Linked DNA regions of Homo sapiens: all the other regions are linked to region 6. Evidence: promoter capture Hi-C in 16 types of primary human blood cells and fetal thymus (Javierre and others, 2016). All regions are on one chromosome and are shown on one strand. The core of a region is centred on a gene start or on the middle of the fragment in contact, and the rest is flanking DNA. Distances in the headings are between cores, read along the strand shown.

Region 1 (3,915 bases), core at 399-2,898, 700 kb after region 6:
CAGAGTGATACTCCGTTAAAAAAAAAAATCTTGTGAACTCACTGTCACGAGAGCAGCGTTCAGGAAACCACCTCCATGATTCAATTACCTCCACCTGGTCCCGCCCATGACACGTGGGGATTATTAAAATTCAAGGTGAGATTTGGGTGGGGAAACAGAGCCAAACCATATCAGGGGGCCAGGCCTTCAGCAGGTGGATAAGATGGGAGGAGTTCTGAAATACACACCCGGGATGCTCCAGAGGCCAAATCATAGGGCAGGTCATCCCAAGGACAGCAGTTAATTCACTGACATGCCAGCAAAGGGCAAACCGAATCGGCCCCGCGGAGCCCAGGTAGGGGCGCCGCTCACCTCCTAAAATGCCCTCAAAGACCCCTTAGGGCACAGCCATATGCTGAGACATGTTGGGGTGGACAAGCAGGTCTCAAGAAGCTTAGAATGTCCCCTAGGTGGACGCTAAGGGACAAGGCCCACCGAGGAAGGCAGCTGCAGATGATGGAATGCCCTCCCAATGGCGGGAACAAGCAAGGCTTCCGCAGCTCAAAAGGAGAAACATGCTTTGCGCTGGAGTCCTCAGAAAAGGCCACTTCCAAACTGTGGGGATGGGGAGTGGACGGGCCTAAGAGAATGGGAAGGCAGAACACCCCTTCTCCAGTCTCCCTTGGCCGTTAAAACCCCAGAGCAGCAGCAACGTGGGCTGTTTGGTGCGGAGGTTCCTGGTTTGGGTTGGCCAGGCGTAGAGTGCTTCCGACAATTCACCCACCCTCCAAGACGCGCGGGCCGGGGAGCGGGGAGAGGGCGGAGGGAACGGCGCACCGGGCCCCGTCGGACTGTTGGACCAAAAGTCCTCAGTGTCGGGGGCTCGCAGCGCCGCCGCGGCGAACCCAGCTAGGGGGCACCGCCTGCGCCGGGCACAGGGAGGCCGTTCGGCTTTCCCCCTCGCGCCCATTACTCTCAGGCGTCCCGGGGAACCCCGCGGGCCAAGTGTCGGGCTGCGTCCGGGCAGAGGCGGCTTCGCCTGGTGTCAGCGCGTTTCCGAAGGGCACCCGCGGCGGGGCCCACAACTCGAGCTGGGAGCCGCCCCAAGCAACCCGTTCCTCCGAATCAGGCTGCTTTTCTCTGTAAAGAAAAGAGAAAGCAAGCGATTAACTGATGGCTTGGCCGGCTGGAAACGGGAAAGCGAGTTCTCCAGGAGCCGCACACCTCGGGGAAGCCCAGTCCCTCCCGGGCAGGGAGCGAGGGGCGGTCCTGGGGGCTGCTTCCCGCGGGGAGAGAAGGGAGGGCGGCGCAGCCCTCTGCGGGGTCCGCCCCTCGGTTCTCCGGACCCCCGCGGCCTGGGGGACACGGGGCAAATTCTCGGATAGCGACGGGCAGGAAGGGGACCCGGGCTGGCGATGGGCCGAGTGCCTCCTTTGCTCTCACCCCCGCGCGAAGACGAGGCCAGTGGGCGGGTGGCGTGGGGCGAGGCCTCCGCAGGCCGCCGGGGGCCCAGGCACCTGGAGCCGGGAGGGTCCGCTCCCTTCCCCGCCCTGGATGGCGGCCTATGGGAAAGCAGTCTCCACTGGATCCCGCGCGCGTCGCGCCGAGGTCGTGGGAAACCGAGGGCGGGAGGGCGGGAGGGCGGAGGCGCCGGCAGGGTCGGCGGGACTGGGGCTCGGACGGAGGACAGGGGCGAGGAGGAGGCAGGAAGGACGCCGGGTACTGCGGGGCGCCTAGGGGGTTCCGAGCGCAGCGGCTGCGGGGCCGACCCGCCCAGGATGGAATCAGGGCCCCGGCGCCCCCACGCCGCTCCTCCAGGCCGAACCCCTGCGGCCCCAATCCCCCGGCCTCACGCCCACCCCGCAGGTCGGCCCTGCAGCTGCCTTCCCTTCCTCCACCTCCCTCCCGCCTCCGAAGCCGGCGCCCCCGGCCAAGTGGCCGCTCTCAACCTGTTACCAAGTCCTAGAGAGAATTTCTCCAAAATATTTCCTGGATCCCCCTGCCAAGGGCCCTGTCCCGCCCTTCCAGCTCCCAACTGGATGCCTGCAGACCTCTCCCCGGGTTCCGAGGCTCTGGCCTCCTCCCTCCCTAATCCATTTTCCACACCGCTTCCCCGGGAGCCCGTTAAAATACACCGGGACCGCGGCGGGTGCAAGCCTCCTGTATCTCCACATAGCAGGCTAAGGGGAATTGGGTAGGGAATAAAGGCTGCAGGGGACATCGGCTGGCAGGTATGAAGCCCGTATTGTGTGTCGTTTGTTAAACACTTCCAGTGGATTTTCTCGTTTAATCTGCCCAACAACGCTTCTGGGCCGGTATTCGTATTGTTTTATAGAGGGAGAAACTGAGGCACAGAGGGGCACTCGGCTTGTAAGCAACGGAGTAATTCAGAGCCCGTCAGCCCCACGCCGAGTTTATTCACCCTGGCAGGGGCTTCCGCGGGAGCCATGACCCTTCCTAACTGGGGTGGAAGGACCCGCAGCGCCAGCCGGGTCCGGGCCAGACGGCAGCGAGTGTCTGTTAATAGGGATGCTGAATGGGTCAGGCAGTGGGGCACAGGTTCAGTGTGATCTGGAATGCCTGCGAGGCCCCCTTGCTCATCCACCTGCCTTTAATGGATGGGTGGTCTGAGTTTCTGGAGATGGGCAAGATGGAGCAGTCTCCACACTTGGCTCTTCAGCCCCGGCGCCCCCCACAGCCGCCTCTGCTTTCCTGGAGATACCGCAGGCTCCTAACCTCAGGCCGGCTTGTGCTGCTCCACCCTCTCCCTCCCCCACAGACACAGGCCACTTAGCGCGCTCTCCCGTCCCTCACCCCTGCCAACAGCAGCCACTTCTGGCCACTTCCTTTACATGTGAATGAGTCCAGGTCTGGGCTGCCTTTGTCCGGGGAGGCCGGTGGGATTTCCATCAATAATTGTTGGTTGGTGAGTCAGGGGTCAGCAGTGGTCTCCTTTCCAGGACCCAGAAATGACACCACAAGGGTAACTGGCCACTATTTCCTGCCTAGGAACTAGCAGCATCCCACCCCCACCACTCCATGGCCTAGATAAGACAGGCCAAGACCCCAGAGACAACAGGACTCTGGAACAGGGAAGGGATTTATGATTAGCATAGGCTCTAGTTAAATTCCTTTTTTTATTTCTGTGCATTGACCTATTATGTAATATGCTTTTTTCTTCCTGGAATACAGATCCTACCAGTGGTTTTATTCCTTTTTTATATAATGTTTAATTCATCTGTCTCTGTAAATCCATCACATGAAATTGAAAGGGTCTCAAAGAGCAGACTGTTTCCCCCCTAACTCTTCCACTATTCAACCCAGGGGCAAGCACTGTCATCCCTCACTGCTACCAGCTTCTGGTCAGTCTTTCTGGCCACACGTATGTAGACATGCTTCATTCTTTTAACTGTGTTTTTGATGTTTTCTATATTAACACCAAAAAAAAGTACACTAAGAAATCAGTGCTATTTCCGAATGGAGCCCGGAGTTTCTCAGCACTGCGCTCCTCCAGTGCCAGAAGCACCCTACTTCTCTTCCTCAGTTGCTTCATCAATCACATGGGGCTGGGGCAGTGAGGAGGATGTATTTGCCTCACATAGAGACTTAAAGGTTTTCCTGATCTCCTCTGGGTACAGAACAAGAAATTAAGGATGATCTGAAATATACAGGGCTTGGATAAGACTTGAAACAATTGTGATGATAGGAATTGCTGGGTTCTGGAACCGAGGATTGCAGTAACCAGGGGCTCAGAAAGCTGAGATATCCCTCCAGTGAAAGGGGACCCGGGAGCATAACTGAACAAAAGTCATTTCTCTTCCTCATGATGGGTATTTCTCTTTTTCTGGTGAGAAGTGTCAGTATCAGCATTTATCTGCTGGAGACTGTTTAAATGTTAGGTGTACTTAGCAACGTTGCATCTATTTTTCTTAAACA
Region 2 (4,099 bases), core at 378-2,877, 900 kb after region 6:
GGATAGGCTTCAGCCACCACGCCCGACCGAGGGTTAGATTTTAACCCAAACACTGTCCCTTCTAATGTTCTCCGCTGCCGCCCAGTGCAGCTCCCAACGCTGACCCGGGTTTCTGGGGTGGAAGCAGCAGAGGCGCCCCCACCCCCACTCCCGCGCTCCACCGAGCCGGAGGGCAGCCCAGGGGCAGCAGCCCCACAGTGGGGCCTGAACAGCGTCCGCGGACCCGACCCGCGCTGCGGCCGCGCTGCCCCGCTCCTCTGGGCGCCTCCCCGAGGGCCTCGCTCGTCTGACCCGCAGTACTCTCCGCCCTGCTCCTCGTGCCTTTGGTGGGCGCGTGGCTTCCGGCCTGCGGAGGCTGTGCCTCCTCGCCAAGGAGCCGTTCACAGCCGCGCGTTCGAAAACCCAGCCGCCGGCCGCGCGTCCTGGAGAAGGGGCACGGTCAACTCGCACGCCCTAAGGGCCGGGCCACCGGGGTCACTGCCCGGCCTGCGGGGGCCGTGCCTGGGGCGTAGGAGCAGCGCTCCTCCGCAGGCGCTATGCATGCCTGCGCCCTCCTGCAGGATGGGCCACGAGCCCAACTGCCAGGCGATCGGCCGAGACCCAGAAGGGTGAGAGGGGGAAGCCGCACCCTCTTCGTGGGTGCGATGCTGTGAACGTCTTCCTTCAAGGAAAGAGCTGCTTCTGGATTTTCCTTGAACTCCAGGAGGTGCTAAGAAAGCTTCGTGACTGTGGCAGATGCGGCTCAGCGGCCCCTCCCAACCCGCCCGCGCCAGTTGGGAAAGTGACTCCCCCGCTCCCCGCCAGTTGGGAAAGTGACTCCTTCCTGTGGGCAGAAGGCAGCGGACCTGGAGGGAGCCCTCGGGCTCTGAGAGTCACGCGGGGGGCGGCCTGCTCTCCCGCGCCCCCTAGCGGAGCATCGGCTCACACGCACCTGAGAGGTCGGAAGAGGCGGGCGCTTCTCTGCCTCCCCCACCCAGGCCCCTTGCAGTTTGTATGCCCTCACCCTGGATAAAAGATTTTGGTTCAACTAGAACTATCTTTTCTAGATCTCATTCCTTTATAACTTTTTTGCTCACAGGAAAAAAACAGGATTATAAAGCCTCTGGAATACGGTCACAGTCGCCAGACTGGGCCCTAGGAGGGCTGAGTTCCTCATTCATTGTTGGTAGAAATATAAAATGGTATGACCCCCTTCCTTTGGAAAATAGTTTGGAGTTTCATAAAATTTTAAACATACACCTGTCATCTGACCCAGCCATTCTACTCCTAGGTATTTACTCAAGAAAAACAAAAACATCTGTCTATACAAAGATTTGAACCTGACTGCTCATAATTGCTTTGTTTGTAATAGCACCCGAGTGGAAGCGACCCAAATGTCCACCAACAGCTGAATGAATAAATAATTTGTAGTACAGACACTCCAAGAAATATTACTCAGGAGTAAAAAGGAATGCACTGGCCGGGCATGATGAGATTACACGCCTGTAATTTCAGCACTTTGGGAGGCCGAGGTGGGCAGATCATCTGAGCCCAGGAGCTGGAGACCAGCCTGAGCAGCATGAAGAAATCCCATCTCTACAAAAAAAAAAAAAAGAAAAGCCAGGTGTGGTGACGCAGGCCTGTAATCCCAGCTACTCGGGAGGCTGAGGCAGGAGGATCACTTGAGCCCAGGAGGTCGAGGCTGGAGTGATGCAATCTCAGCTCACCCAGCCTGGGCAACAAGAGTGAGACCCTGTCTCAGGAGAAAAAAAAAAAGGGCTGGGCGCAGTGGCTCACGCCTGTAATCCCAGCACTTTGAGAGGCTGAGGCAGGCGGATCACCTGAGGCCAGGAGTTTGAGACCAGCCTGGCCAACATGGTGAAACCCCGTCTCTACTAAAAATACAAAAATACAAAAATCAGCTGGGTGTGGTAGCCCATGCCTGTAATCCCAGCTTCTAGGAGGGGCTGAGGCAGGAGAATTGCTGGAACCTGGGAGGCAGAGGTTGCAGTTAGCTGAGACTGCGCCACTGCACTCCAGGCTGGGCCACAGAGCAAGACTCCAAACCGCCCCCCTAACACACACACACACACACACACACACACACACACACACACAAAGAAAAAGAAAAAGAAAGGAATGTTGTGCACACAACAACATGGGTGACTCTTTTTTTTTTCTTTTTTTTTTGAGACGAAGTCTCGCTCTTGTCCCCCAGGCTGGAGTGCAATGGAGCGATCTCGGCTCACTGCAAACTCCGCCTCCCAGATTCAAGCGATTCTCCTGCCTTGGTCACCCCGAGTACCTGGGATTACAGGTGCCCGCCACCATGCCCGGCTAATTTTTGTATTTTTAGTAGAGACAGGGTTTCACCATGTTGGCCAGGCTGGTCTAGAACTCCTGACCTCAGGTGATCCACCCGCCTCAGCCTCCCAAAGTGCTGGGATTACAGGCGTGAATCACCGTGCCCGGCCAACAACATGGGTGATTCTCAAAACAATTACGTTCAGTGCAAGAAGCCAGACTAAGAAGAATGCCTACTGTGTGATTCCATCCTATAAGCTTCTAGGAAATGCAAATGAATCTATAGTGTCAGAGCAAATCAGTCATCACCAGAGTTTGGGATGGGGCAGGAAGGACATATTTCGAAAGGCACAAGGATGTTGGGGAGGGTGAGGGGTGATCAATATTGTAGTCATTGTGATTGATTGTGATAGTTTCAAAACATATCAAGTTAGGCAATTTTAATATGTATTTATTGTATGTAATATGTCAGTGTCACCTCAATAAAACCATTTTTACCCAAAAAACAACAAACATCAGGTCTCTGGGCTTAGCACCCCTTGGAGAAAGAGGCTACAGGTGGTCAGGAGTAGAGCCTGCAAATCTTTATTTTTCAACTTGTCCCAGTGATTCTAGAGCATAGTCTTGTTTGAAAATCAATGGTTTAAGCAGACCAAAGCAGAGAGGTGGGCAGCCAAAAGTCCACAAACAGCACTGTCCTCCACACCCAGGCATCCTCAAAAATGTTTAGGGACAATCAATTGCTCTACACCCCAACAATCAACACCAAGCAACGGAAACACCAGGGGACACTTGCGGAAAGTCAGACCATCAAAAATCCCATCTTCCCATACCCTCAGCCACCCCAGGAAACACACCATCTAAATAAAATGGCACATCTAGCCCCTCCCGCCAGAAGACTATCCCTAAAACATTCTTAAATAGAAATTCTAAGCCATAAATTTATTTCCCCTTTTTAGGAATCAACTCATGCCTTGGTCAGTGACTAACACACCTACTACTACTCATGACACATTGGTTAGTGCCCCTAATCTTCCTCATCTCCCTAATTTTGGGACCCCAGCCGAAATGGTTTAGTCTTGCTGGAAATGTTCCCACTGGCCACTAGGGGAAGTAGTGCCTGGATTATACACATCCCCTGAGCCTCCAATCCCCAGCTCCTGAAAACTGCCACACATGCAAATTTCTCTTTTTGGGGGTAGTCAGTAAGGCATCTTCAGATTCAAGACCCACGTTGTAATGATTCTGGACTTGGTTTTAACTCAGGGTAAAATTCCAGCAGTCTTTTAACTTATCTGAGCCTCAGTTTTCTCATCTGTAAACTTAGCACAATGAGCCCTTTGGGGCTAGCCTCCCTACAGCACCGACACCCTTAGTGTAGCATCTCCCTCTCCCTTGGCTATTCCTGCATCCACAGCCAGCAGCAAATGTGGACATATGGGATTGAGAGTAGGCAAGGAAGTCCCTGGAAGACAGCAACCATTGAACTGGGTCATGAGTGTAAATGGCAAGCCTGTTCTTCCCTAGTTCTGCCAGGAGGATGGAGTGTCAGCAGAAGTCTATGGAGGTTCCTCCCAATTGACCACACTGGGAAATTCTCCCAACAATGACTCTTCAAAGCCATCCTGGTAAATTCTTCCTCTTGAGTGGTTCCCAAACAGTTGCCTCATTTTCTCCAGAACTTTACAAGTTCAACGTCCATGGTTTGGATCATGGTTTGGGCTCAAATTCATGTTTGTCCCTATACATTTATATATTTTTTAAGGAATAAGAAAAGTTCGATTATGCATTGCTTATCCAAACAGGTTTGCAGCTT
Region 3 (4,065 bases), core at 1,383-3,882, 740 kb after region 6:
AGACTTTGTGAGAAGTAGCAAAGCTTCTGCTGGCTTCAAGCCCTCAAGCTGCTGGTAAATTGAGGTAAGGCACATTCTCCTGTCAAAGGATTTCTAAACTCTCCAGACCTTATCAGGCAGGGTCCCAACAGGAAGCAGAAGGCACACTCAAATTAGCATCATAGAGGAGAGTTTCTCTATATACGGACTACCTACAAGGTGTGGGCAGGTGCAGGGGAGCCATGCAGGAACCCCAGGCCACAGCAGGTGAGCTGTCACTCGCACCAGATCCAGCGGGGTGAGGGAGGGAGAGGTTATCAGAACTGAAACATGGAAGGAGAAAGTTGTGAGGAGGACAGCCCCTCCACAGGTGATTTTACAGAGTCGGGGGATGCAGAGCAATGAGAAGCCTCACCTTCCTCTCTCCCCCTGAACTCCTGCTGGGGCTCCCCCGGCCCCTGGCCAAACCCACCCAGAAGCCAGAGGGCCCAGGAGTTGTAGAGTGCAGTCCATGCAGCCATGCAGGGCAGGCTTCCAGGGCAGAAGGGGGCTGGCAGGTGGACAGTGGGTCTGGGGGTGACAGAAGCAGCACACAAGGACTCTCTGCACGTGGACGACCCTTTAGCATGTTCTTCTGGAAGGTTTAATGTTCACCCAGCCTTAACTTCTTGGGAGAATTTTAAAGTATTAAGAGCAGGGAAAATTGAAAACCAATTTAAAAAGGGAACTTAGCCATTTCCAAGTGTATTAGTCCATTTTCACAGTGCTGATAAAGACATACCCAAGACTGGGCAATTTACAAAAGAAAGAGGTTTAATTGGACTTACAGTTCCACGTGGCTGGGGAAGCCTCACAATCATGGCGGAAGGCAAGAAGGAGCAAGTCATGTCTTACATGGACAGCAGCAGGCAAAGAGAGAATGAGGAAGACACAAAAGCAGAAACCCCTGATAAAACTATCTGATCTTGTGAGACTATTCACTACCACAAGAACGATGTGGAGGAAACCTCCCCCATGATTCAATTATCTCCCACCGGATCCCTCCCATAACACGTGGGAATTATGGAAGTACAATTCAAAATGAGGTTTGGGTGGGGGCACAGAGCCAAACCATATCACCAAGTTTAAGTGGAAATGTATGATTTGAGCCATTAAACACTTAGATTGTCCCAAACTCTCAGGAGCACATCTGTGGCTCATGTGAAGCAGGCCTACCGCTTTGTGTAATTCTAAAGCTTCTTATAGGTTTCCACTATAGACTCAAAGCCCAGAACTTAATGTATAATAACAGTACTATTATTATTATTGTAACAACTATATAGCAATGCTATACCTTGCAGATCACTAAGTATTATCTATTTCAGGGAAGCCATAGGTTTCACTGGAGCTTAAGGGAACCATCAAAAACAAGGAATTCGTAAACAGGATTCAGTGTTTGCCTGGCATGGGACCACTATTTTTGCTGGTCCTCCTTTTTCTAGGCCTCTGTTTCATTGAGAAAAGTTGTAAACTGTGTGCAAGAGAGGCAAAAATGTGTTGCTCAACTTATAATGATTAGTCTGGTGCACCGTCACTAGAAGGTTGAGATGCGTCATCCATTGGAGGGAACATTCAGCAGCCTAAACAAGGATGCGTGGAAGACTCCAGTTGACATGGGAAGATATTCGTCATATATAGCTGAATGAAAAAAAAAAAAACTTACAAAAGAGCATTGTAGTGAGATGCCATTTTTTGAAGAAATCATATGTGTGTGTGTGTACATGCATGTGTGTATTTTTAAGTCATGAAGAAAAGGTATGAAAATGACACAAATAGTTAACTTGGCAGGTGGGATTCCAGGTAACTGTCATTATCCTTTTGCTTATTTGCATTTGATAAAAGAAAAACTTCAGCTGAATTAAATTTAAAGGAGTGTAATTGAGCAATGAGTGATTCAGGTATGGAGCAGCCTTCCCAGCCAGAGTAGGATCAGGGACTCCAGCACAGCCACGTGGTGGAAGACTTATGGACAGAAAAAGGAAAGTGACCTACGGAAAACAGAAGTGAGGCACAGAAGCAGCCAGATTGGTTACAGCTTGGCATTTGCCTTATTTGAATAGAGTTCAAACAGCTACATTTGATTGGCCAAAACTCGGTGATTAGTACAAGTGGAGGCTAAGGTCTGTTTACACCTATACTTGTTATAGTTCACGATGTACAGAAAAACCTTTAGGCCAAACTAAAAATAGCTAAGGAGGCAGCTTCAGGTGAAACTTGATTTAACACATTTTTAAAATGAACATGTATTTATCATCTAAAAAAAATGTTATGGTATGAAAGAAAATCCCTGCCTGCAACACCTTAGAAACAGACTGAAGCCCCAGGACCACCACAGAGCACAGCCACAGGGGCCCTCGCCATCTTGCATTCTTTGATCCTTGTGCAAAGGAGACCCTCAAGTCCACTCTTCAATTCCTCACTGCAGCCCTGGACTCTCCTAGTGCTTACTGGAAATAAGGCACTGTTAAAGGCAAGGGGGGGAAAAAGACTGGCCCCAGCGTCTCAGCATAGAAGACTGGGGACCTGAGATGAGCCTCTCTGGACATGGCAGGTCTGTGTAAGCCAGCCCTGTGTGCCATGACCTTTTCTCTATGGCTTTACATTCTTCCCTTCTGTGCCCTCTCCCTTACCTCTAAGGGTGGGGCTAGTGGTGATAGTGCTGGTACAGATTCTGGAATTCTGATCTTACAACTTCAGCCAGGCATTGGTCTCTGCCTTCCTTATGTTTCACTTCCTATTTGCAAAATGATAATGCTGTTTCCTAGTCTAGGAAACAAAGAGGCCCTTCAGGGTGTCATTGGACTCTCTGCCTGCACCCGCATCCCTTCCAGCTGGGCTCCAGATGACATAGATTAGCCAACGCTTTCTGTGTCCATAACCATCGCCAGTGATCCTTTGGTTAAAGACATCCCCAGATCATATAAGGTCTTCTCACTTCCCAGCAAAGCGCCTGAGTGACCTCGTTCTGGAGACATACAATCCAAGCCCTCTGCCTGTCCCTCATTTGTGTGAAAAGCACTCTTTTGGGAGGTGTCTTTTCCCTGGTACTTCTCTCCTGAAGATAGCAATCTTCTCCCCTTTTCAGGTGTCTTTCCAGTTTTAGATTCTATTGTGTTCTCTAGAGAGTTTGTAAACGTTCTCTTTGAAGAAAAGTTTCAGATTGAGGAAGGTTCTTAAAGCCATGATACTCCCGAGGATGAATGGATTTGCTTCTCAGCATCTTTTTCTGACCTCCCTTTGAAAGGATGGAAGGCTAGGGATATTTGACAGCTAGTGGTCTAAGTGTTAAGAGGGATTGGGCCATATTCTTTTTCTTTCAGGTATAACTTCTCTTATTGGAATATCTTCTCTGTCTCTCAACTTTTATATTCTTGCACCAGAGCTGAACAAGTACAGCCAACCCCAAAGGCCTGTGTTGGTGGGGATCAGGAAGTGTGGCGGAAGCCCCTGCCTCCTGCAGGCTGTCAGGGTGATCACTGCCCTCCACCAAAACTCATACTGCTCCAGGTGTTCAGAAGCCATGCCCATGGGTTGATGGAGATGCTCCTGAGCTGTGAAGACCAACAGAAGGGCCGGAAGGCAGAAGAAACACAGGATGTGGCCAGAGACATAGTCAGGTGCTAATACCCAGGGCAGCAGCACCTTTAAAAGGCCCCACTCTCACAGGGGCAGGGGCAGGACCTGGCTGGGCCCTGACTGGGAGCTCATCAGCAGGGGGAATGAGTCACATGAAAGGCTCCACCCCTGAGCAACAACATTCAAGACAGCATGTGATATGGGTTTGGGTGTTTTGTGCCTTCCAAATCTCATGCTGAAATGTGCCCTCCAGGGCTGGAGGTGGGGCCTAGTGGAAAGTGTTTGGGTCATGGGGATGGATCCCTCATGAATGGCTTGGTGCTGTCCTCACTCACTCTGTGAGTTCACATGAGATCTGTTGTTTAAAAGAGCCTGGCAGCTCTTCTCTCTTTCTCTCTCTTGCTCCCTCTCTTGCCATGTGACACACTGGCTCCCCTTAGCCTTCTGCCATGATTGGAAGCTTCCTGAGGC
Region 4 (4,327 bases), core at 540-3,039, 830 kb after region 6:
AAAGGCCAAACTGGGAACTCTAGCCGTGGTCCAGGAGATGGAGGGAACAAAGACCACTGGAAGGAGTCAGATAGGAAAGATGGCAAAAAGGATCAAGACTCCAGATCTGCACCTGAGCCAAAGAAACCTGAGGAAAATCCAGCTTCCAAGTTCAGTTCTGCAAGCAAGTATGCTGCTCTCTCTGTTGATGGTGAAGATGAAAATGAGGGAGAAGATTATGCCGAATAGACCTCTACATCCTGTGCTTTTCTCCTAGTTTCTCTCCACCCTGGAACATTCGAGAGCAAATCAAAACCTCTATCCAGACAAGACAAAATAAAATTCACCATCTCCTGAAAAAAAAAAAATTTCAGTAATACGGAGGAAAATAATCACTAGATTATACTATAATTCTAATATTTGATGAATTATTTGAATGGGTGCATTGATAATATTAACTTAAACAAACTTTAAGATCTACATTTAATTTTCAGTTCCTTAATTTCACATAGGCCATTAGTCTTTCAAGAAAATATTCTGCTTAGATCAAGCTTTTCCAACCCACAGCCAGCAGGTTGCATGTGGCCCAGGACGGCTTTGAAAGTGGTGCAACACAAATTCGTAAACTTTCTTAAAACATTATGAGATTTGTTTACGATTTTTTAAGCTCATCAGCTATCATTAGTGTTAGAGTATTTTATATGTGGCCCAAGACAATTCTCCTTCCAATGTGGCCCAAGGAAGACAAAAGATTGGACACCCCTGATTTAGATATTCTTATCTATAAATGGCAAGCAGCATATCATCTTTGTCACCTCAAAATTTCATAAGGAGGAAAATAAGTCCAAAATAATCGCAACAGATACCTGGAAAATTATGATTGATCCAGTTATAACAAAGGGTATAAAAGGATGAAGAGGTACTCAGGAAAAACGTGGCACCCACAATGTACATTTTCACTAGCCAAATTCAAAACAATAGAATTCACATGAATTCTTTCAAAACACATTTCAGTTCTGTGGAAACCAAATGTTTGAACAAAAAGCTTCTCAAAATGTTACCCACTGACAACTGTATTCAGTGGATGAAGACAAAGAACTTTTGTAATTTACTCAAGTGATCAGGTACAAAGTTCTTTCCAGAAACCATGTTATCGAAATGCTTTCTTCCTGCATGACATGCTGCTGCATGCACAAAGTTTAATGGTGTTATTAAATGTGCTGCTTTTGTATTCTTTCCATCAGTTTGACAGCCTGGTGGATTAATGGTGAGGCTGAGTGCGCTCATCTTTATTTTGCTGCCAAGAGGCTTTGGTTCTTCCCAGTAAAAGGAATCTTATTGGAGAAATATTTATGAAATGAAAAGTCCATCAAGTAAAGTGTTGGGCAATTGTCTCCAGCAATGGAACAAACATGGTGATGGCTACAAGTGACTTGGGAATCACAAGCGTCCTATGATTTGTTCACACTCTTCAGCTGTGTGTTGAGAAAGCAATAATGGCACAGAATTGCTGCCTGTAATCTCCAGCAAGTGGGCTGCTTTCATCATTCTTTTTTATCCAAAGATAAACTACATGACATAGAAAAGATTTTGGAACCGGCTTATCATGTAATTTTACAAAATGTTCCAATAAACTGGAACAGTAGCTATTCCGTGTTCAAAGGCTGCTTGAAGAACAAAAAAAGTCTTAAAATTGTACCATGTGGGAAGCAATGCCAATTTGGCATAAGATTGCTTGCAGAGAACGCAGCTCATTTGCTGGAATGTGCTGAAGAAGTGACCTACTCCATGGACTTTGGGAGGCAAGCACTTATTTTCTTCTTCAGCCTGCTTTAGACCCTCCTATTTTCCTAGCCGGAAAGGTGCTGGGATTAACTTGCTTGCAAGGAGCGCTGAGGAGCATGGACATTTAGAGACACAGTGTTAGCTTAAAAGCCTATTCCAGTGCTCCACTGTTAATTTTTAGATCCAACACTTGAGGACAATTTTTCCCTCAAATGCATGCAAATTATTGGAAATGAAGATGACTGAGGAAAGGCAGCAATCTGAAGACTGCTGCTGAAGCGTCCAGAAGGCTCCTCGAGCAGAGCACGCAGCTTCTGTTTCCGGGGCTGCTGCATTTCCTGCAACCCCATCTTCAAGTCCAGGTGGTAGGGAAAGGAGAACACTTGATGTTAGCAATTGCAATAGTCCCCCGTTATCTGCGGGAACAATCCAAGACCCCCTATGGATGCCTGAAACTGCAGATAGTATGGACCCTACATATACAACACAGGTTGTCAGACAGCACGGGTGGTTCACGTTCCCACTTGAAAACGTTTGAAGTGTGAAACCATTTGTTTCTCCCCAGTGGGACCCTTCCTGACGCCAGGACAGACTTGGCCTCTTGGGTTAGTGTCCCTGTGATACCGATCCTTCTGCAGGGATGTTTGTCTAGCCCTCACCAGACCCTTGCAGTAATACCTAGACTCTTTTAACGAAACCAGGACCAAGAATACAGTGTTCAAGGGGTGAGAACTCAGGTATACAGACGAACAACTGTACTACATTTTTCCTTGTACATAAATACCTATGAAAAAGCTTAACTTATGAATTAAGGCTAAGACACTAAGAGATTAACAACAATACCTAATAATAAAATAGAACAATGATAAAAGTATCTGTAATAAAAGTTATGTAAATGTGGTCTCTCTCTCTCTCCCAAAGTATCTTATTGTACTGTACTCACCGATTTTCAGACCACAGTTGACTGTGGGTAACTGAAACGGCTGAAAGCAAAACCACAGCTAGGGAGACTACTGTGTCTATGTTTAGAGCAGCGTTTCTCTACTGTGGTTGGCACTATTGACATTTTGGACTAGGTGGTTCTTTGTTGTAAGGGGCTGAGTGTCCTGTGCATCATAAAAAGCTAGCAGCACCCTTGACCTCAACCCAGTAGATGTTGGTCCCAACACTCCCCCAATTTCCAGACATTGCCTAATGTCACCTGGGGGGGCAGAATCACCCCTAGAACCACTGGCTTAAAGGAAGGAAAGCTGACTCACATGCTACATTTACTTCTTACACGGTAACCCACCGTGGCACCCGTCCCATTGATCTGCTTCAGGCACCAGCATCTTCTGCGGAATCTGGTGCTGACTAAGCTAGCTACCAAAGCATATTGTACGGCCCCACTGGTTTCTTGGAAATGGACTTTTGTTTCCACTGCAGATCTGAAAACAGTGACCACAGGAGCACCCTGCCCGGTGACGGTGCTGAGAGGTCACTGTTATCACACTATAAATATTAAGCTTTAAAATGTCACTGCTGGGTACAAACCTCTGGTCTGATAGAGGAAATAAGACCTGCTGTTTGATAGATCAGTAGGGTGACTACAGTCCACAATAATCTAGATACATTTCCATATAGCTAGAAGAGACTAATTCAAATGTTTCTGGCATCAAGGAAAAATACATATTTAAGGCATGGATATTCCAAGTACACTGATTCGATCTGTATGAATTACACAAATATATAAAATTACCACTTGTATCCCTAAAATATGCATGTCTTATGCATCAATTTAAAAACAAAAAATCAGATACAATTTTAACTACTAAAGTTCTTAAATGAAAACTGAAACATGATTTAAATTCTTAAATAAGGCCAGGTGCAGTGGCTCAAGGCTGTAATCCCTACCCTTTGGGAGGCCCAGGGTGGATCACTAGGTCAGGAGTTCGAGACCAGGCTGGCCAACATGGTGAAATCCCATTTCTACTAAAATACAAAAATTAGCTGGACATGGTGGTGCACGCCTGTAATCCCAGCTACTCTTGAGGCTGAGGCAGGAGACTCGCTTGAACCAGGGAGGCGGGGGCTGCAGTGAGCCAAGATCATGCCACTGCACTCCAGCCTAGGCAACAGGGCAACACTCTGTCTAAAAAAACAAAACAAAACAAAACAAAAAAATTCTTAAATGAAATTTCAGATGTATCCATGAAACCCAGAAGTTCTAAGCTGGCAATATTTGTCTTTGGTCAAATATCAGTTTACACACTTGTACATTCGACATTGGGTCACACTGTGTATTTTGAGCACACGTCTGAGAAGAATATTTATTCCCAAAGCATGGTCAGAGCACAGCAGGCACTCCAGTAGGGTGCTCAGTGGTATTTGCTGAACAAATGATTCCATCAGCCAATCCTATATTGCTGAGCATTTAAGTTGTTTGCAATCTTTGGTCTTATACAGTATCTTGCAATGAGCTTTCTTAATTAGAAAGCAACCCTATTTAATAATCCCCTTGAAAAATGTTTTAAGTGGTAGAATTATGGCATCAAAAGGTCTGAACGTTTTTGTGGTTTTTTAT
Region 5 (4,332 bases), core at 1,684-4,183, 590 kb before region 6:
TGAAAGTGCAGCTTATTTATCTTGGTTAAAGTGCAACTTATGTGGTAGCTCTGTCCACGAAGTCCTCAGGGACCGAACTCTTTCTATCTTGCTGCTTTCCTCTAATGCTCTGAGGGTTGAATTATGATCTAAAATGGCTACCTAGACAAGCCAACACATCTGCATTTCAATCAAAAGGAAGGATGATGGAAAAAAAGAAGACAAACTTTTGTCTTATCTGTTTGGTAAGGATGGTTGCCACACCTTGCTACATGATACTTTCTCTTACAGCCATTACCCAGTGCATAGTCACAGGGCCACAGCTAGCTGCAAGGGAGGCTGAAAAATGTTGTCTTTCTTCTGGGTGGCCATGTTAGAATTAGATAAAGATATTTTATTACCTAGAATGTGAGCGTTCTAGTATTATGAAACAACAACAATAAAATAACAACAACAACAACTGGATATTGAGGACCGGCCAGCAATCTCTGTCATCCTCTCCTCTATTGAACTTAGTTCATCTGGGCTAATTCTGTCAGAAATTCTTTGAACTTTAATCCAATGCACTAAATCTCGGTGAGGATATGAGTAGATTTCATGGAGCTGACAGCATCAGAGGGGAAAAAAGTCACTAATGAAAATCATATCTCAACCCATTAATGAAAATCATATCCACTAGGGAGTACACATTCCTAAGCCCAGACCTTAGGGGTATATCTCTGCTTGCGACATGAATACTCATCAATGTAAGTTTTGCAAGTGGAACACTTAGTATTCTCAGGAGTAACCAAATGAATACAAGATGTTGACTCATGTCACTTTGACTCCATGAGGTGTTGATTTTGTATATATAAACACAAACATTTAAATCAAAATTATATTTGCATCAATGATTTGCATCAATAAAAGTATGTCCTGGAGCAAATTTCATTTTGTAAATTTATAAAAAATTCATTTTAATATTTTATGTTTTAAATTTTATATTACATACAAACTGTTATATAACATTTATATAACTGTTTCTCATTTTTCTACTTCACTAGAATTATTTTCACTGGAATCATTTCCAGTTCTTTTACATGTAAGCTTCCCATTGAAGTTACAATTTAGCATTATTTTTTGACTTCATGACAAATTATAGTCATTAGAGTTTCTGACATTATGAGTTTTCTTTTGTGGTTAATTAACCAAGACCAGTTGTTTTTCCGCTGAAACTTTGTAGATCTAAATCTTGTCAAAAAGATTTTATTGATTTTTTCATCAATTTAAAATAAGTGACACATTTTACCATGTCTGTTTTTCTCAATTTTTCCAGTTTTCTTTTCTTTTTTTTTTTGAAATGGAGCCTTGCTCTGTCGCCCAGCTGGAATGCAGTCGCGCGATCTCGGCTCACTGCAAGCTCCGCCTCCCGGGTTCACGCCATTCTCCTGTCTCAGCCTCCTGAGCAGCTGGGACTACAGGTGCCTGCCACCACGCCTGGCTAATTTTTTTTTGTATTTTTAGGAGAGATGAGGTTTCACCGTGTTAGCCAGGATGGTCTTGATCTCCTGATCTCGTAATCCGCCCGCCTCGGCCTCCCAAAGTGCTGGGATTACAGGCGTGAGCCACCGCGCCCGGCCAATTTTTCCTGTTTTCAATGTTACCAATCAGCAGTTATTTTTCAGTCAGTTTTAATTTTATAACTAAATTGTGTTCAGTTTTGGCCACTGTTAATTTCATTTTGTATTTATTTCTATCAAGTCCAGTTTTCCCTGTCAACCTGGTCACAATATCCTTGGCATAACAATAGCCAGGCAAAATAACAACAACAAAAAACCCAATGAGATAAAACCCCAAATTCCAGGCAACTATTCTGACATGTTTGGTGGCTATAAAGATGGAAATAAATACATCTTAGGAATCTTCTAGTTCCATCTTCTCATTTTATAAGTGAGAAAACTGAGGTTTCCCAAGAAAGATGAAGTCTTGAGCCAGTGCAAGAGTTATTAAGGATGGAGGTGATGAGCAGGTGTGATAAATACTGATTGGACTGTGGGATGACAAAGAGGGACAAGTCTAGGATGATCTTGGATTTCAGGCTTGGGTGACTGGGTGGATATTGATGCTATTAACTCAGACAAAAATACATGAGTAGGTCAGGTTTGGAGGTGGGGACAGAGGACGAGTTCAGGTTTTTAAATGCTAGCCCGATGTTTAAGTGGAATCTGGATATTTGAATAAGTTTTTTTTTTTTTTTTTTTTTTTTTTTTGAGACAGAGTCTCGCCCTGTAGCCCAGGCTGGAATGCAATGGCATGATCTCAGCTTACTGCAACCTCCGTCTCCCAGGTTCAAACCATTCTCCTGCCTCAGCCTCCCAAGTAGCTGGGATTACAGGTGCATGCCACCACGCCCAGCTAATTTTTGTATTTTTAGTAGAGACGGGGTTTCACCATGTTGGCCAGGATGGTCTCGAACTCCTGACCTCAGGTGATCCTCCCGCCTTGGCCTCCCAAAGCATTGGGATTACAGGCATGAGCCACCGCACCCGGCCTGAATAAGAAATTTTTAAACAGGTCTGAATGGAAAGATAGACTTGGGAATTGTCAGCTTACAAACTTACAGGTGGTAGTCACCTGACAAGAGACAAAGTCACCACCCTGGGAAAATACACATCAAGGAGGCAAAGTTTGTGCAGGCCTGCAGGCCTCATATGGACAGCAGATGTGTTTTGTTTGGTCCAAAACAGAAGTTTAATAAAATGTGAATTAGTGAGCAATGTTTAAAATTTGTGAGATTTCATGTAAATATCTGTATATCGATTGGTGTTTTTTTTTCTTTTTCTTTTTTTTTTTTTGAGATGGAGTCTCACTTTGTCACCCAGGCTGGAGCACAGTGGCGTGATGTTGACTCACTGCAACCTCTGCCTCCTGGGTTCAAGCGATTCTCTTGCCTCAGCCTCCTGGGTAGCTGGGATTACAGGCACCCACCACCACGCCCGGCTAATTTTTGTATTTTTAGTAGAGACAGGGTTTCACCTTATTGGTCAGGCTGGTCTTGAACTCCTGACCTTGTGATCTGCCCGCCTCAGTCTCCCAAAGTTCTAGGATTACAGGCGTGAGTCACCATACCCGGCCCTCGATTATCTTTTAAGCAGGGGATCTGACATCACCGGGTCAGCATTCCTGGTTGGCAAAAATCAACAGAGCTGTGGTAGGGACCACGAGCTCCAGATCACCACAGTCTCTATCCCTGGGCTTCACTCCTTTGTGTTAACTGCCCGGCTGCTGTAGGCTTTGGGGTTTGCAGCCTCTGATGGAGCCTAAGAAAGCCAAGGGAAAAAAGAGCTCAGGAAAAGGGAAAGTGGAAGCCAGTGATAGAAACTGAGGAAAGATAGGTGACAGGAGAACCTAGAGGACTGACTTGGAAACAAGCAAAGAAATCAAGTTTGAAAGGAGGTGAAACAAACCTTGTTTTAGCTATATGATCCAGCTATTTGCTTAGGCCCCAAATTTAAGAATTATTTTTGACACTTTTCTTTTCCTTATCTCCCTTATCTAAACTCATCTCCAAGTCTGTCACATCTACCTCAGAATTATTCCTGAAATTTGTCCATTTCTATCATTTCTTACCTGCTCATTGCAAAAGCAACTCTTCTCTTTGCATCCTTTTAAATTGTTTCTCAAAAGTTTCATGTATACACAGCAGCTAGCAGGGTGATGTTATAAAACTAGATCCTGTCACTTACGTGTTGATAACTCTTCACTAGTTTCCCCTTACACTTCGAATAAACTCGTATTCCTCACAGGAACCCAGAGAGTCTGTGCATGATGGGGACTCTCCTTGCCTTCTTGATCTCATCCTCTGTTCTTCCCATGACCTACTTTCTCACTTTCTCCAAGGCACCACATTCTGCCCCTTCCCTATTGCTTGCTCACATGTAGATTCTTCTCTTGGCTGTTCTTTCCTTAGCTCTCCACAGAGTTGGCTGCTTCTCAGTTTACTGAACCTCTTCAGAGGGCACTTTCTTGACATCTCAAATCAAAAGGTCACCTGTCTTCCTTTAATTTCTCAGCAACTTATTTTCCTTCTACTTTTTTTTTTTTTTTTGAGATGGAGTCTCGCTGTCGCCCAGGTTGGAGTGCAGTGGCGCGATCTCGGCTCACTGCAGGCTCCGCCCCCCGGGGTTCCCGCCATTCTCCTGCCTCAGCCTCCCGAGTAGCTGGGACTACAGGCGCCCACCACCTCGCCCGGCTAATTTTTTGTATTTTTAGTAGAGACGGGGTTTCACCGTGTTAGCCAGGATGGTCTCGATCTCCTGACTTTGTGATCCGCCTGCCTCGGCCTCCCAAAGTGCTGGGATTACAAGCGTGAGC
Region 6 (3,905 bases), core at 879-3,378:
ACTTCCAAGGTGCTTCTCCTGTATGTATTTTTTCACATTAAGTCAATCACTCAAGATCCACAAACAAGACAGAGAATGCACATATCCCAGCCTAAAATAAAACTTTTAAAAATCATTTGGTGCTCATTTCCAGCCCGATTTGAGGCCCTAACACTACCAACTTGGAACTACCACTCATGTGAGTTTCCTCTGGCTCTCTCCATGGCCCAGATAATCAATCCAACTTTCTACTGGCCAGGCTGGCCTCCCTGTAGCTGGTTCTCATAAACACGAAATTTGTATAATTGTTATTGGAACTACCTGCTGAAATATGGAACTGGTTAAAAGTACCATTTGTTTTAAAATGTACATGCACAGTTGCACATACATGCAGCAACACATCTTCCACAACCAGCCAATCAATCAAGTTAATGCTTTTTATTAGAGGACAAAACAAAAAATACCAATATAGAGCCTGCTTTTCTTTTCTGATGCCTTGGTAAACGTTTTTGGAGAAATCAAGAGAAAATATGACCGAATAAAGCAAAAATAAATTCGAATGTATAATATACAAAGTATAATTAGTCCAGTTCTCAAGAAGCAGGCTCTATTACTGGGAGTAGTGGGTTGGTGAAAAAGATCTCTGATATATCTAGGAAAACAAATTCTTTTTCGATGCAGCCTTTCTTGTATATGAATAATGTATATGAGTGCTTATTTCCAGGTGACTCTGGTACAGCACATAACATTGAAACATCAATTCAAGTTTAATGTATAAAGTCGCAATGAACATGTTTTCCATCTAAGCTTAGGTAATGAATGATCTCAACACATGGTATGAATTCTACTGTTTGTAACAACCTTTCAGGGGAGTAAGGAGAAAACGATCTGTCTGAGGGCATATCACTGACAGTGAGTGACAGCCACAAAGAGCTGAAGTTGGGTGGCCCAAAAGTGCTCTGCTCATTTGATAAATGCTAAGTCAAATCACATCACAGTTTAGATGCATTAAATGGGGCACAAGTTAGAATAAAATCAGATGCCCGGGAGTTTTCCAAGTTTCAGATTAGAACAAAAGTCCAGGCACATACAGGACTTTGCTAGAAAACTCCTTGGTCTCTTCCCTTAAGATTCTGGTACCCAATTTCCCATGTTATAAAACTCCAAGTCTTTTCCCCCATTCGGTGCGCTGGACACATAAGATCATAGAGGGTTCGTAGTTGTAAACGCACCCACCTAAAAAATTAAAAAGAGCAAACCAACAAACAGCACCTGAAAAATCTCTCACGGGCTTTGAAGATATGGCCTGGCGTCCACAAAAAGAATGGAGGGAAGACACTGGCCTCTGCGAACCCGCCTCCCTCCGGGAATAAAAGGCGGAGGGCGGGAGGGGTAACAGCCGCGCCCCGGGCTCCTCTAATTGGACCTCGCCCCTCCTGGCGCCCCGGCGAATGGGGTTTGGGGGCAGGGGTGTGAGGGACGGGGAGGACGAGGCCAGCTGTAGAGGGCGACCGGCTCAAAGGGGCGAGCTTTTCACGGCTCCCACGAGTCCGAGGCAGAGAAATTCACCTTTGCTCCTCTCCTTTGAAGAAGACATAGCTGCCTGCGCTCAATGAACAAAAAGAACCAAAACGCCAACACCCGGCTCCCGCCTCTCCGGGGGCTCCCTTCCGCGCGACCCCAGCGCCGGCTCCCGCCCCCGCTTTCCCCGCCCTGGCCCCGCCCCGCGGGCTGGCACCGCCCGCCACCTTCCGCCTCCCGCCTCCCGCCTCCCGCCTCAGCCTTAGCCACAGCCCTGCGCCGGCGGGAACCCCTCTCGCCCACCGCAAGGCGCGCCTGGCCCACCCGCTCTCGCGAGCCTTCCCTCTTGCCCCTCGCCTCCTCCTCCCGCTCTCGCCGCTGACGTGTCGGCCAGACCCCCGAGGGAAGCCTCCGCCCTCGCTGCGTTCTGCGGCCTGCCGCTTACCGGGTGGTCCTCGCGGGAGCTGCTTCAGCAGTTTGGGCAGTGGCGGAAAGGAAGCCACCGCCCGGGATCTGTGGCTTGAAAATTTGGCTTTGCCTCGTATTGGCTTTTTGAGTTTTTTTGGAATTTTCCCGCGGTCGCCCGGCAGTGGAGCCGCGCGCGCGCACACGTGTCAGCAGTGCATTCTGGGGCCTGGCTAGCGGCCCCGCGCGCTCCCGCGGCGTCGCGGGAAAATTCCGACGAATCTCGGGTCCGTGGGGCGGGGCGGGCGCGGCCAGGGCTCTGGCGGAAGTGGGCCCGGCTGGGGCGGGTTCTAGGCGAGCGGAGTCGGTACTGCTCCAGTGTTCCCGGTTTCGCGCGGAAGCCCCGGCGGGAGCAGGGTTGCAGCAGCGCCCGCGGAGAAGGGGCGCTGGCTTCTTCCATATTCTGTTCAAAATGTAGGGGAGGTAAAATGGAAATTAGTTCTTTTGAAGAAAAGTTGAGGCTTTGTCAACGGGGTAAAACCTCTAAAATAAGATTTTCTAACTGCGTTCTAAACAATAGCAACAAAAAAGGCATCTTCAGTTAATGATTTCCCCTACCGTACATTAGTTCCATACAGTGTTTGGTCGGGGTTCAAATCAGTTCAACGCTGTACATAAACCACCCAAACAAATATTAATAAAATTTTCTCCAAACTCCCATTTATGACAATGGCATTAGCTTGTCTTGGTGAATTTTTTTTTCTTCTAGGATCTGACGACTTAAGCTTTAAAATGTCTTAAATCAATGCCTCACAACCATAAATCATAATCATAAAACTACAGCTTAGGTCGGGCGCTGTGTCTCAGGCCTGTAATCCCAGCACTTTGGAAGGCCAAGGCGGGCGGATCACGAGGTCAGAAGATCGAGACCATTCTGGCCAACATGGTGAAACGCCGTCTCTACTAAAAATACAAAACGTTTAACCGGGCGCGGTGGCGGGCGCCTGTAATCTCAGCTACTCTGGAGGCTGAGGCAGAATAGCTTGAACCAGGGAGTCAGAGGTTGCAGTGAGCCGAGATCGCGCCACTGCACTCCAGCCTGGCGACAGAGGGAGACTCCGTCTCAAAAAAAAAAAAAAAAAAGCTACAACTTCACATATACGTTCAAAAACACACTACAGGCCGGGCGCGGTGGCTCACACCTCTAATCCCAGCACTTTGGGAAGCTGAGGCGGGTGGATCACCTGAGGTCAAGAGTTTGAGACCAGCCTGGCCAACATGGCAAAAACCCGTCTCTACTAAAAATACAAAAATTAGTGTGTACTCCCGGCTACTTAGGAGGCTGAGGCAGGAGAATTGCTTGAACCCAGGAGGCGAAGGTTGCAGTAAGCCAAGATCGCACTACTGCACTCCAGCCTGGGCAACAGAGCGAGACTCTGTCTCAACAAAAAACACCACAAAGCTGTGTGTGCTTGTAATAAAAATAGCTCTCAAGTATTTAAACATGTCCAACTATTCCTATGGTGAAGAAATACCCGTTTTACCAATGAATACTTTCAATTCAGAGACTAATTTGCAGAGGTTATACATTTATAAGTGATACAATAAGTATATAGCATAGCAATAGCAACAATCTGTTTAAGAATTAAAGGTAGTTAAAAAAAGGAACCGATCCAGAGGTTGAGACAAAACTGGCAGAATCTGCAACTACATTAAGGAATTCGGTGTTTACATCCATTCTCGAAACTATTCCATGCCAGTTAAGGAAGTCGGTGCTTTTTGATTGTTTTTTAATTTTAGATTCGGGGGTACATGTGCTTGCTTGTTACATAGGTATATTGTGTAATGGTGGGGATTGGGCTTCTGGTGTACCTGTCCCCCAAACATTGAACATTGTACCCAATAGCTAATTTTTCAGCCCTCACCCCCTTCCCACCCTCTCCCTTTTTGGAGTCCCCAGTGTCTTGTTATTCCCATTCTTATGTACATGTATACCTATT

The links. Contacts are between HindIII fragments. The CHiCAGO score rates a contact against its expected background, and 5 or more counts as called.
Region 1: the fragment with the promoter of LINC00092 here is called in contact with the fragment with the promoter of FANCC in region 6 in 1 of 17 cell types (M1 macrophages); the score reaches 5.1 in M1 macrophages.
Region 2: a contact is called between a fragment that was not itself captured here and the fragment with the promoter of FANCC in region 6, in 2 of 17 cell types (fetal thymus and M1 macrophages). The highest score is 6.0, in fetal thymus.
Region 3: a contact is called between a fragment that was not itself captured here and the fragment with the promoter of FANCC in region 6, in 4 of 17 cell types (naive CD4 T cells, naive CD8 T cells, non-activated CD4 T cells and 1 more). The highest score is 7.6, in naive CD4 T cells.
Region 4: a fragment that was not itself captured here is called in contact with the fragment with the promoter of FANCC in region 6 in 1 of 17 cell types (fetal thymus); the score reaches 6.6 in fetal thymus.
Region 5: a contact is called between a fragment that was not itself captured here and the fragment with the promoter of FANCC in region 6, in 3 of 17 cell types (total B cells, naive B cells and fetal thymus). The highest score is 6.5, in total B cells.

What each region holds. Positions count from the first base shown.
Region 1 is chr9:96,020,163-96,024,077 of GRCh38, forward strand. LINC00092 (long intergenic non-protein coding RNA 92) reads right to left here and starts at 1,649. Exons shown (of 2, transcript NR_024129.2): 1 at 1,423-1,649; 2 at 1-1,119. LOC105376159 (a long non-coding RNA gene) reads right to left here. Exons shown (of 2, transcript NR_188619.1): 2 at 3,098-3,915. It also overlaps a transcript of ERCC6L2 not described here. RefSeq lists a silencer at 829-878 and enhancers at 1,089-1,138, 2,571-3,071. The HindIII fragment of the contact is 3,638 bases long and covers 431-3,915 here.
Region 2 is chr9:96,218,939-96,223,037 of GRCh38, forward strand. No RefSeq gene overlaps it. Among named protein-coding and RNA genes, the nearest start is that of HSD17B3-AS1, 25 kb to the right of the region's middle. The HindIII fragment of the contact is 1,823 bases long and covers 717-2,539 here.
Region 3 is chr9:96,053,596-96,057,660 of GRCh38, forward strand. No RefSeq gene overlaps it. Among named protein-coding and RNA genes, the nearest start is that of LINC00092, 34 kb to the left of the region's middle. The HindIII fragment of the contact is 2,840 bases long and covers 1,213-4,052 here.
Region 4 is chr9:96,147,629-96,151,955 of GRCh38, forward strand. It overlaps the pseudogene EIF4BP3. Among named protein-coding and RNA genes, the nearest start is that of HSD17B3-AS1, 97 kb to the right of the region's middle. The HindIII fragment of the contact is 1,535 bases long and covers 1,023-2,557 here.
Region 5 is chr9:94,721,657-94,725,988 of GRCh38, forward strand. No RefSeq gene overlaps it. Among named protein-coding and RNA genes, the nearest start is that of AOPEP, 2.9 kb to the right of the region's middle. The HindIII fragment of the contact is 3,741 bases long and covers 1,064-4,332 here.
Region 6 is chr9:95,315,581-95,319,485 of GRCh38, forward strand. FANCC (FA complementation group C) reads right to left here and starts at 2,129. Exons shown (of 15, transcript NM_000136.3): 1 at 1,946-2,129. RefSeq lists a silencer at 1,481-1,800. The HindIII fragment of the contact is 1,904 bases long and covers 785-2,688 here.